Linked DNA regions of Homo sapiens: all the other regions are linked to region 2. Evidence: promoter capture Hi-C in human tissues and cell types (Jung and others, 2019). All regions are on one chromosome and are shown on one strand. Each heading gives the region's core, a stretch centred on a gene start or on the middle of the fragment in contact. The rest is flanking DNA. Distances are from core to core; before and after follow the strand shown. Region 1 has its middle 37 kb from the start of FGFBP1. Region 2 holds the start of FGFBP2 (fibroblast growth factor binding protein 2). Region 3 has its middle 20 kb from the start of FGFBP1.

What was found. The method cuts DNA at HindIII sites, captures the fragments that hold promoters and counts their contacts. A contact is called where the count stands out against the background at its distance.
Region 1: a contact is called between a fragment that was not itself captured here and the fragment with the promoter of FGFBP2 in region 2, in 3 of the 25 tissues and cell types used here (spleen, stomach and thymus).
Region 3: a fragment that was not itself captured here is called in contact with the fragment with the promoter of FGFBP2 in region 2 in 3 of the 25 tissues and cell types used here (adrenal gland, aorta and spleen).

Annotation. Positions count from the first base shown.
Region 1 is chr4:15,900,013-15,902,712 of GRCh38, forward strand. No RefSeq gene overlaps it. Among named protein-coding and RNA genes, the nearest start is that of FGFBP1, 37 kb to the right of the region's middle. The HindIII fragment of the contact is 6,221 bases long and covers 1-2,700 here.
Region 2 is chr4:15,961,799-15,964,498 of GRCh38, forward strand. FGFBP2 (fibroblast growth factor binding protein 2) reads right to left here and starts at 1,377. Exons shown (of 2, transcript NM_031950.4): 1 at 640-1,377. The coding sequence starts at 1,331. The coding sequence ends at 660. RefSeq lists an enhancer at 1,407-2,248. The HindIII fragment of the contact is 18,537 bases long and covers 1-2,700 here.
Region 3 is chr4:15,916,933-15,919,632 of GRCh38, forward strand. No RefSeq gene overlaps it. Among named protein-coding and RNA genes, the nearest start is that of FGFBP1, 20 kb to the right of the region's middle. The HindIII fragment of the contact is 3,961 bases long and covers 1-2,700 here.

The DNA of each region.
Region 1 (2,700 bases), core at 160-2,659, 62 kb before region 2:
AAAGATTGTACAATGAACTCCCAGAAACCCTTCAGTCCAGTTACACAGGAGTCAACATTTTGCCATCTATACTTATTTCTTTCTCTTTCTTTACTGTCTATTTCTCCTTCTTCATTCATTTTCTTCCTTCTTCCCTTCCTTCTTTTTTTCCAGTAAGCTGCAGACACTATGATACCTTGCCCCTAACTGTTCCAGCAAGTATTTCCCAGGAATAATAATATTCTTCTACTAACCACATTATCATAACTAAGAATATTAATAATAATTCTATGATATAATCTACTATAAGGACTATATTCAAATTTCTCCATTTGCCTCAAGAATGTATTTTATAGGCTGCTTTATTAGGATCTAATCAAGTATCATATATTACTTTTGGTTATGTTTCCTTTGTCTGTTTTCACCCAAAGCAGTCCCTTTTGGATTTTTTATGCTTAACATTGCCTTGTGAATAATCTAGCCAATCTATAAAGCCAAACTAAGAATTAGCTGATTCAATAACATACTAAATCTTAGTTTGCCTGGTTGCTGGTTGCTTCCTTCTTTTTTCTCTTTTTCTCTTTCTTTTTCTTTTTTTTTTTTTTTTTTTAGACAGGATTTTCTTCTGTGGCCCAGGCTGGAGAGCAATGGCATGATCTCAGCTCACTGCAACCTCCACTTCCTGGGCTCAAGAGATCTTCCTGCCTCAGCCTCCCGAGTAGCTGGGATTACAGGCATGCACCACCACACCCAGCTAATTTTCCATATTTTTTGTAGCAATGGGCTTTCGCCATGTTGCCCAGACTGGTCTTGAACTCCCGGACTCAAGCAATCCATCCACACTGGCATTCCAAAGTGCTGGAATTACAGGTGTGAGCCACCATACCTAGCCCTGGTTATTTCTTTCTAATATCATTTAAATCATTCCTTTAGTCGCTGTATTTCTTGTAATCTTAGATTCACATTGAACACTTTTGCCCAAAATATTTATATATTAGCTTCCCATTACCACTGTAACATAGTATCACAAATTTAGTGGCCCAGAACAAGACAAATTTATCATCTCACACAAATTTATTCTGATTGGGTCCTCAATCCTGCCATGCAGTGTCTGCTGCTTCTTCCTTCTTCTCCTCCTTCTTCTCTTCTTCTTCCTCTCCTTCTCCTTCTCCTTCTTCTGCTGCTGCTAATGCTTCCTCTTCCATTTCCACTTCCACTTCCACTTCTTCTTCTCTTCTGCTTCTGCTTCTTCTTCTTTTTTTAGAGACAGGGTTTTGTCCTGTCGCCCAGGCTGGAGTACAGTACTGGAAATATGGCTTGCTGCAGCCTTAACCTCCTGGGGTCAAGCCAATCTTCCTGCCTCAGCCTCCTGAGTACTTAGAAGCCCTACACAGGTCTCAGCGGACGAAAATCAACATGTCGGCAGGGCTATGTTCTTTTCTAGGAGTTTCAGGGTACAATCTGTTTCCTTGAGTTTTTTATCTTTTAAAGGCCACCCACATTCCTTGGCTGTAGCCCCATCTTCCATCTTTAAAGCCAGCACCATCATCTCTTTTTGTCCATACACATTTCTCTCTGACTACAGCTAGGAAAGGGTCTTCTCTTTTAGGGGTTCATGTAATTAGATTGAGCCCAACTAGATATTCAAGATGCCATCCCCATCTCAAGTCCCTTACCTTGATATGGAAATTTTCTTTGGTCGTGGAAGATAACATATATGTAGGTTCCAGGAATTAGAACATGGACACCCTTGTTGGGGACTGAACAGTATTCTGCCTCCAGCTTCATAGGGGATACTTTTTATGTCATCTTGCTGAGAAGTCCATTAGGAAACTGTCATCTTTTAGTGAGGCCAAATTCAGGGCATTTAAGTGTAAATTGGAGAGGGAGGCAGTTAACCAAGCTGTGGGTCTCAGAACTACCTCAAAGTGGCAGGGAGGGGATTTTAAAAATGTAGCTGTCAGAGCCTCATAACAGAGATTCTAATTCATTAGGTCAGGCCTGGCAGCTGCCATATTTGCCATCCAGAAGTGGGTGATTCACACCTGCACAAGCCTGGAGCCCATCCCTGAACAACCAGGCACCTGTAGTCCCAGCTACTAGGGAGAGATAACAGGTGGAGGCTCATTTTCTTGATCCCCTTCTGAAGTTGGCCTCTCAGGGACACCTCGCTGGTGGAGTCTTTTCCCAATTTGTCAAAAGTCATCAGCAAGAATGAAAGCACAGATGACAGTCAAAGCGAATGAATTTTCTAAGGGAAGTGGTTACTGACAGATTTCCTTTCTCAGGGTTGGTGGATTTACTCATCTTGGTCAAAGGCAAGGAAAAGGTGGGTAGCAACATCTATTTGCCAACTTTTATGGCAATATTTAGTATTTAAATTATATGGATAGATTTTGTTAACAATTTTTTAAATTAAAACGGCAATACATGAACGTTAAAATTTTTTAATGCAGATGTGTATAAAGTAAAAAGACTTTCCCCCCAGTTATCCTCTTTTAAACAGCTACTGTTATATTTCTTTCTAGTAATATATTGTGTATATAACAAACATACTTATATAGACATGTCCATATTTTTCTTATACAATTGAGAACATCTTGCACACACACTGTTCTGTATTTTGCCTTTTCCCCTTGGGCCTGATTTTATATCAGCCCAAAATATCTTCTGCATCCCTTTTCACAATTGCAAACCTTAGATGGATATCTACGATTTATC
Region 2 (2,700 bases), core at 127-2,626:
TTTTCTCCTCTGTGATGAACAAAAAACAATTAAAGGCTTTGAGAGCTGTGAGAAAGACTTTAAAGACTATTTGACTCAAACTTTCCTCAGTGCACAACACTCCCCACCCTAACTTGACTGTAGGAGAAAAAACTGAGAACAAGACGGGGTGTGGCGACACCTCCACCATGACATAGCACCTCGGCCACTAACAGCTGCAGCAAATGCTTGGTTCATTAGGAAACGTTACCCGGCAGAATTCCAAAGGCCTCGGTCTAACAGTGAGGTGGTTCCATCACAAGGAGATTCTCAACCTTGGCTGCACATTCAAATCACTTGGGGGAGAGTTTTAAAAGTCCACATTCCTGCGCTACTATGTTGGAGACATAGATGGAACGGTCTGGCGAGGGGCCTGGGCATCAGCATTTTTAGAGCTCCTTGTAGGTGATTCCTATGCAACTCCAGGGTCAAGTGCCACTCCGGATGAACTACCTCATCTACACTGCTCTGCAACAGACAGCCTCAAACCCACCCCCAAACACACGCTGAGACTCTGATGTGGTCGCAGCAGCTGTGAAAGTGCTAAGTGCCTCTCACGTAGTCTCTGTATATAAGTATATACACGTAGTCTCTGTATATGAGTAAAGGAAAGGGTATTACCTGTAGGGGTCTTTCACCTGTCACCCTCGGAAGAAGCTGATGAGAAAGGCGCACAGGGCCTGGAAGGGTTTCCAACAATGTTCCCAGGCCTTCTTCTTTGCTTCCTCATTCCCTCCGGGCCTGGGTCCAGGCTGGGTAGGTTTGGCTGTGGGTCGGGTGGTGGGTTTGGCTTTTCCCAGCTCTTCCATCGAGTCCTTTCCCAGCTGTGTTGCTTCTGTGAGTTTCACTGTGGCCTTGGGCCTCAGAGATGGCGTCCCAGCCTCAGGCTGCTGGTTGGGCTCTGGGCTGCCCTTGAGGCTGGAAGTCACCTGCTGCATATGGGCCTGGGGTCCAGCCTCCCTGCACACGGATGGCCTAAGCACCGGGGCCCCCTGGCACGCATGGTGAAGGCGCCTCAGCTCCTGCAGGGCTTGATTCCAGTAAGGTTTGGGGTCAGCAGCGAAAGCCTGGCACATGCTGGGCTGCCCCCTGTACTCACACCAGTAGGTCTGGTCTGTGTTGCGGCAGTCGACACGAAGCCAGACTTCTCCAGCACCTTGCCCCAAGCTGCTGGGACGCATAGTGCAGGAATCTCTCCCTCCAGTCTGGAAATGGAATTCCTCCCCAGTGCTTCCTTGCTTTTGCCTCGGGGCCTGACCCAAAGTCCCCAGGCAGGACAAGGTCACCAGCAGGAGGCAGGGGACGAACTTCATGGCGATACTCCGATAAACTTGCTTGCAACTCTGCACCAGGAGAGAGAACACAAGTGGGACGAGTCACCCTTTAAAGGGTGCTGCACAAAAGACTCTTTCTCTGCAAGGGTGGGGAGGATGTTTTGCAGCAAATGAGAAACATGCCCACAGACCTTAGACACGTAACACTTGGCAAGGGCAGAGCAGCCACCAGGGGCCGCCCACCACAAGCAAAGGGAATGGTTTTCCTGAGTGCCTCAGAGAGATCTGCCCCAGCCCTGTCACGCACAAAGCGCCACACACAGCTTTGGGGCTGAGGGTTTTACAGTTTTCCAACCACAGGGTGCTTGCTCTAAAATTGGCCCTTGTACGGGAACAGCCTTCTTTGTCAACATTTGGTATATGCCAAGGTGTGGCAGTGGTATTCTGGAAAGTGAGGTTTGCAGCTGGGAGTCTGGGCTGCCTCGAGGCTCCCTCCTGCTCCCTGGAATCCCCATCTTGGGGGACCATGGGTTTAGTTAATCCAAAGGAAGCCAGAATTTTATGAGCCTAAGTGTTATGAGATGGCCTAGCAAATGCAAAAAAGACTATGTGAGGTTGTGTGAGGATGTGTGTGCCAGAGGGACACAGAGACACTCCCCCTCCCACCCACCGAGCTGAGAGTCACCTGGTGTGGCCTCTGTGGGGCTGTCCCGCCATCACCGTGGCCACAGGCCACAGTGCTGCAATGTTCACTTCCCTTGTTATTGCATGCCTTACAATTGCACCAACTGAATGATGACGAGGAAGGCATGCAAATATATGTTCACAGTGGGATTCAGTCTATTTTAGACCATGAATTCTATTTCAAATTCAATTGAAATAACACAGTTTTAATTATATCACAGGAAAATATGATTTTAAATATTATTATTATTGTTCTACAATAGAAAAAAAATAAATTGAAAATAACTTTTGATTCTGTGTCAAGAATCATAGTTTGGTATGGTCATAACTGTCTTTTGATGACCCTTCCAGAGGGCACTGTGGAGTGGACTAAAGGTGGCAATTTGCTGTTAGGAATAGGGTTGACGGATGTTGGGGGACTAGTTTGAATGTGAGGGATTTATCTTGGCGATCCCACGTAGGGTAGTTGGTACCTGGCACAGCCTTCCTTCCACCTGGATATCCTGAGTCCTGAGAAGACCTAGTAGGGCTGGAACTAAAGCCAGGCTGAGCTTCGGCAGCCACTGTGTGTGTAGCAGTGAGAGCCTTCCAGAAGAGGGCATCACCCCAGGTGGGGAGCAGAGGAAGCTTCCAAGAAGTGGTGCCAAACCTTCAAGACAAGTCAGTCAATTTGTCAGGTTGAGAAAGGGTAAAGGGCAGGTGTTTTTTTTGTTTGTTTGTTTGT
Region 3 (2,700 bases), core at 55-2,554, 45 kb before region 2:
GAACACCCCCTTCCCCCCAGGCTGATCTGAGACAGGGCTAATCTGAGACAAGGCTGATCTGAAACAGGACTGATCTGAGACAGGCATATACAGCTGGCCCTTGAACTACACAGGTTTGAACCATCCAGGTCCACTTACATGTGGATTTTTTTCAATAAATATATTTTTTGTAGATTTGTGACAATTTGAAAAAACTTGCAGATGAACCACGTATCCCAAAAATATAGAAAATTTAGAAAAAGTTAAGTATGTTGTGAATGTATAGAATACATGTAGATACTAGTCTATTTTATCATTTATTACCAGAAAATATACACAAACCTATAATAAAAATTTAAAATTTATCAAAACTTACACAAACACTTACAGACCATACATGGCGCCATTCACAGTCAAGAGAAATGTAGATAAATGTAAGGATGCAGTATTAGATCATAACTGCATAAAATTAACTGTAGCACATACTATATGTACTACTGTAATAATTTTGTAGCCACTGCTGGCTGCTATTACAGTGAGCTCAATTGTTGTGAGTATCCACTCTAAATGCCTTGTGACGCTAATCAACTCCACATGAACAGCTCATTTCTCCAGCATTTTGCTTATTGCAGTAAATAGTGATAGTGTGTGGTTCTCAAGTATTTTACATCATGTTAAGTGCAATACCCTAAATCTTGAATAACACCAGGGGATCCCATACAAAGGCAGTGCCATTTAGTGATGGTAGAAGGCCTCCCAAGAAGAAAAGTCACAAGCTGACATACAAGAAAACGTCGAATTGCTAGATATGGACCATCAATTGAGGTCTGCAGTTGCAGTTGCTGCCATTTTAGATTGACTGTTCATCTTGTAAACTTACAGAATCAATAAATACAGTACAGTACTGTAAATGTATTTTCTTTTCCTTATGATTTTCTTATAACATTTTCTTTTCTCTTGCTAACTTTATTTTCAGAATACAGTGTATAATACATACGACTACAAAACGTGTTAATTGACTGTTTAGGTTATTGGTAAAGCTTCTGGTCAACAGTAGGTTATTAAGTTTTGGGAAAGTCAAAAGTTTGACTGCACTGGGGTTTGTTTGTTCCGCTAAGCCCTGCATTATTCAAGGGTCAACTGTAGCAGGAACTGCTGTTCCCATTGCATAATAGGAATTATTAATGTCCCATATTACAGAGGAGGGAAGGAGGGTGAGAGTGGCTAAATCACTTGCCCAGGTTCTCGCCTATTCAGAAGTAGAACCAGGATCTCCCAAGTTCCAGTGGGAGATCTCGTCACCGATGAAGCCCCTTTTGCACCGTGCAGGAATATACCTAGGCAGAGTGAAAAGCTCAAGAGTTTTGCTGTTAGACCTGGATCAAATTCCAGCTTTGCCATATCCCAAGGAGTCCTAGTTTTCCTGTCTTTAAAATGGCAACAACAACAAAATCTGTCTCACAAGTTTCTGGGAGGGGTGAAATGAAATGAACTAGGATAGAAAGCCCTGGCAGGCATGCAACAGAGACTTGGTCAGGTAACCTTGGTTCTTTCCCACAGTCTGGCTCTCCTTTTTGCCCCCTGGATTGGCCACACCTGCTCTCACCTCTGAGCCCTTGCTCATGCTGTTCTCTCTGGTTATAAATCCCTCCCTGTCTCCTCCTCTTATCTCACTCAAAACCCAGCTGAGATTTCAGCATTTCCATGCAGACTCCTCCCTTATACCTGTTCTTCTTTCCGCACTTGGGACTCTGCCAGCACTTGGCATTTAATCAGCCACAGTGGATTTAAGTGTTTCACTTGTGAGTGGCTTATCTCCCACATTACACTAGATATTCCTTGAGGGCACTGACCAGCCTCCTGCATCCGTCCGTCAGCTTGGCCCAGCCACAGCTCTGTCTCTTCTTGGTGAGTGGCTCTGGGCACTTGCCCCTTCCCATCACTGTGCCTAATCCCTCTCCTGTACACGGTGGGGACCACTGGAGGAGCTCTGGAGACTCCCTCTTGTGAACATTAGGTGAGTAAGTGAAACTGGGCTGAGTCTACAATAGGAAGTGACCAGCAGGAACTGGTTGGGTTTTCCAGTAACCCCTATGGACCAGACATTGCACCCAGTACCTTGGAACTTCTCTAGTTGTCAGAAAGGCCCTAGGACATTGTGTGTTTATAGCTTAAGAATGTGAACTTTAAAGGGATACATAACTTAATTGGCAATAATTGGTTGAGAATGATTTCTTACTGATGATCACATATTTTTTACGCCATGCACTGTGCCGGGAATTCAGAGAGATATATAAGGCAGACATGGCTATCATAGGTACAAATGGTTGGGGCCGACTTCGCAGGTGGTAAAAAAATTTACCAAGACAGTTATAGGTAAAGAAAGGCAGATTTATTAGACAAAGTATGAAAATATGTTGCAAGGTTGCAACAGGCAGCAACAGCAGAGAAGGGGCTGTGTGTAAAGAGGCAGGGGCTGGAGGGAGCTAATTTCGGTGGGTTGTTTGTGATTAGCCATCTCTCAAATAACAATTGTTCATTTTTCTTCCCCACGTGGGGCCCTGCCCTACCTGGGGCCCCTTCCTAGTGACTGCTTACTTACCAGGACTCCAAAATGGTCCCCAGCTTGCTTCAGAGAGCTCACAGCCAAGATGACAAGTGAGACCATCAACCATCAGTCCACTACCACCCTCATATCATTGTTTTATATGTATGAGAACC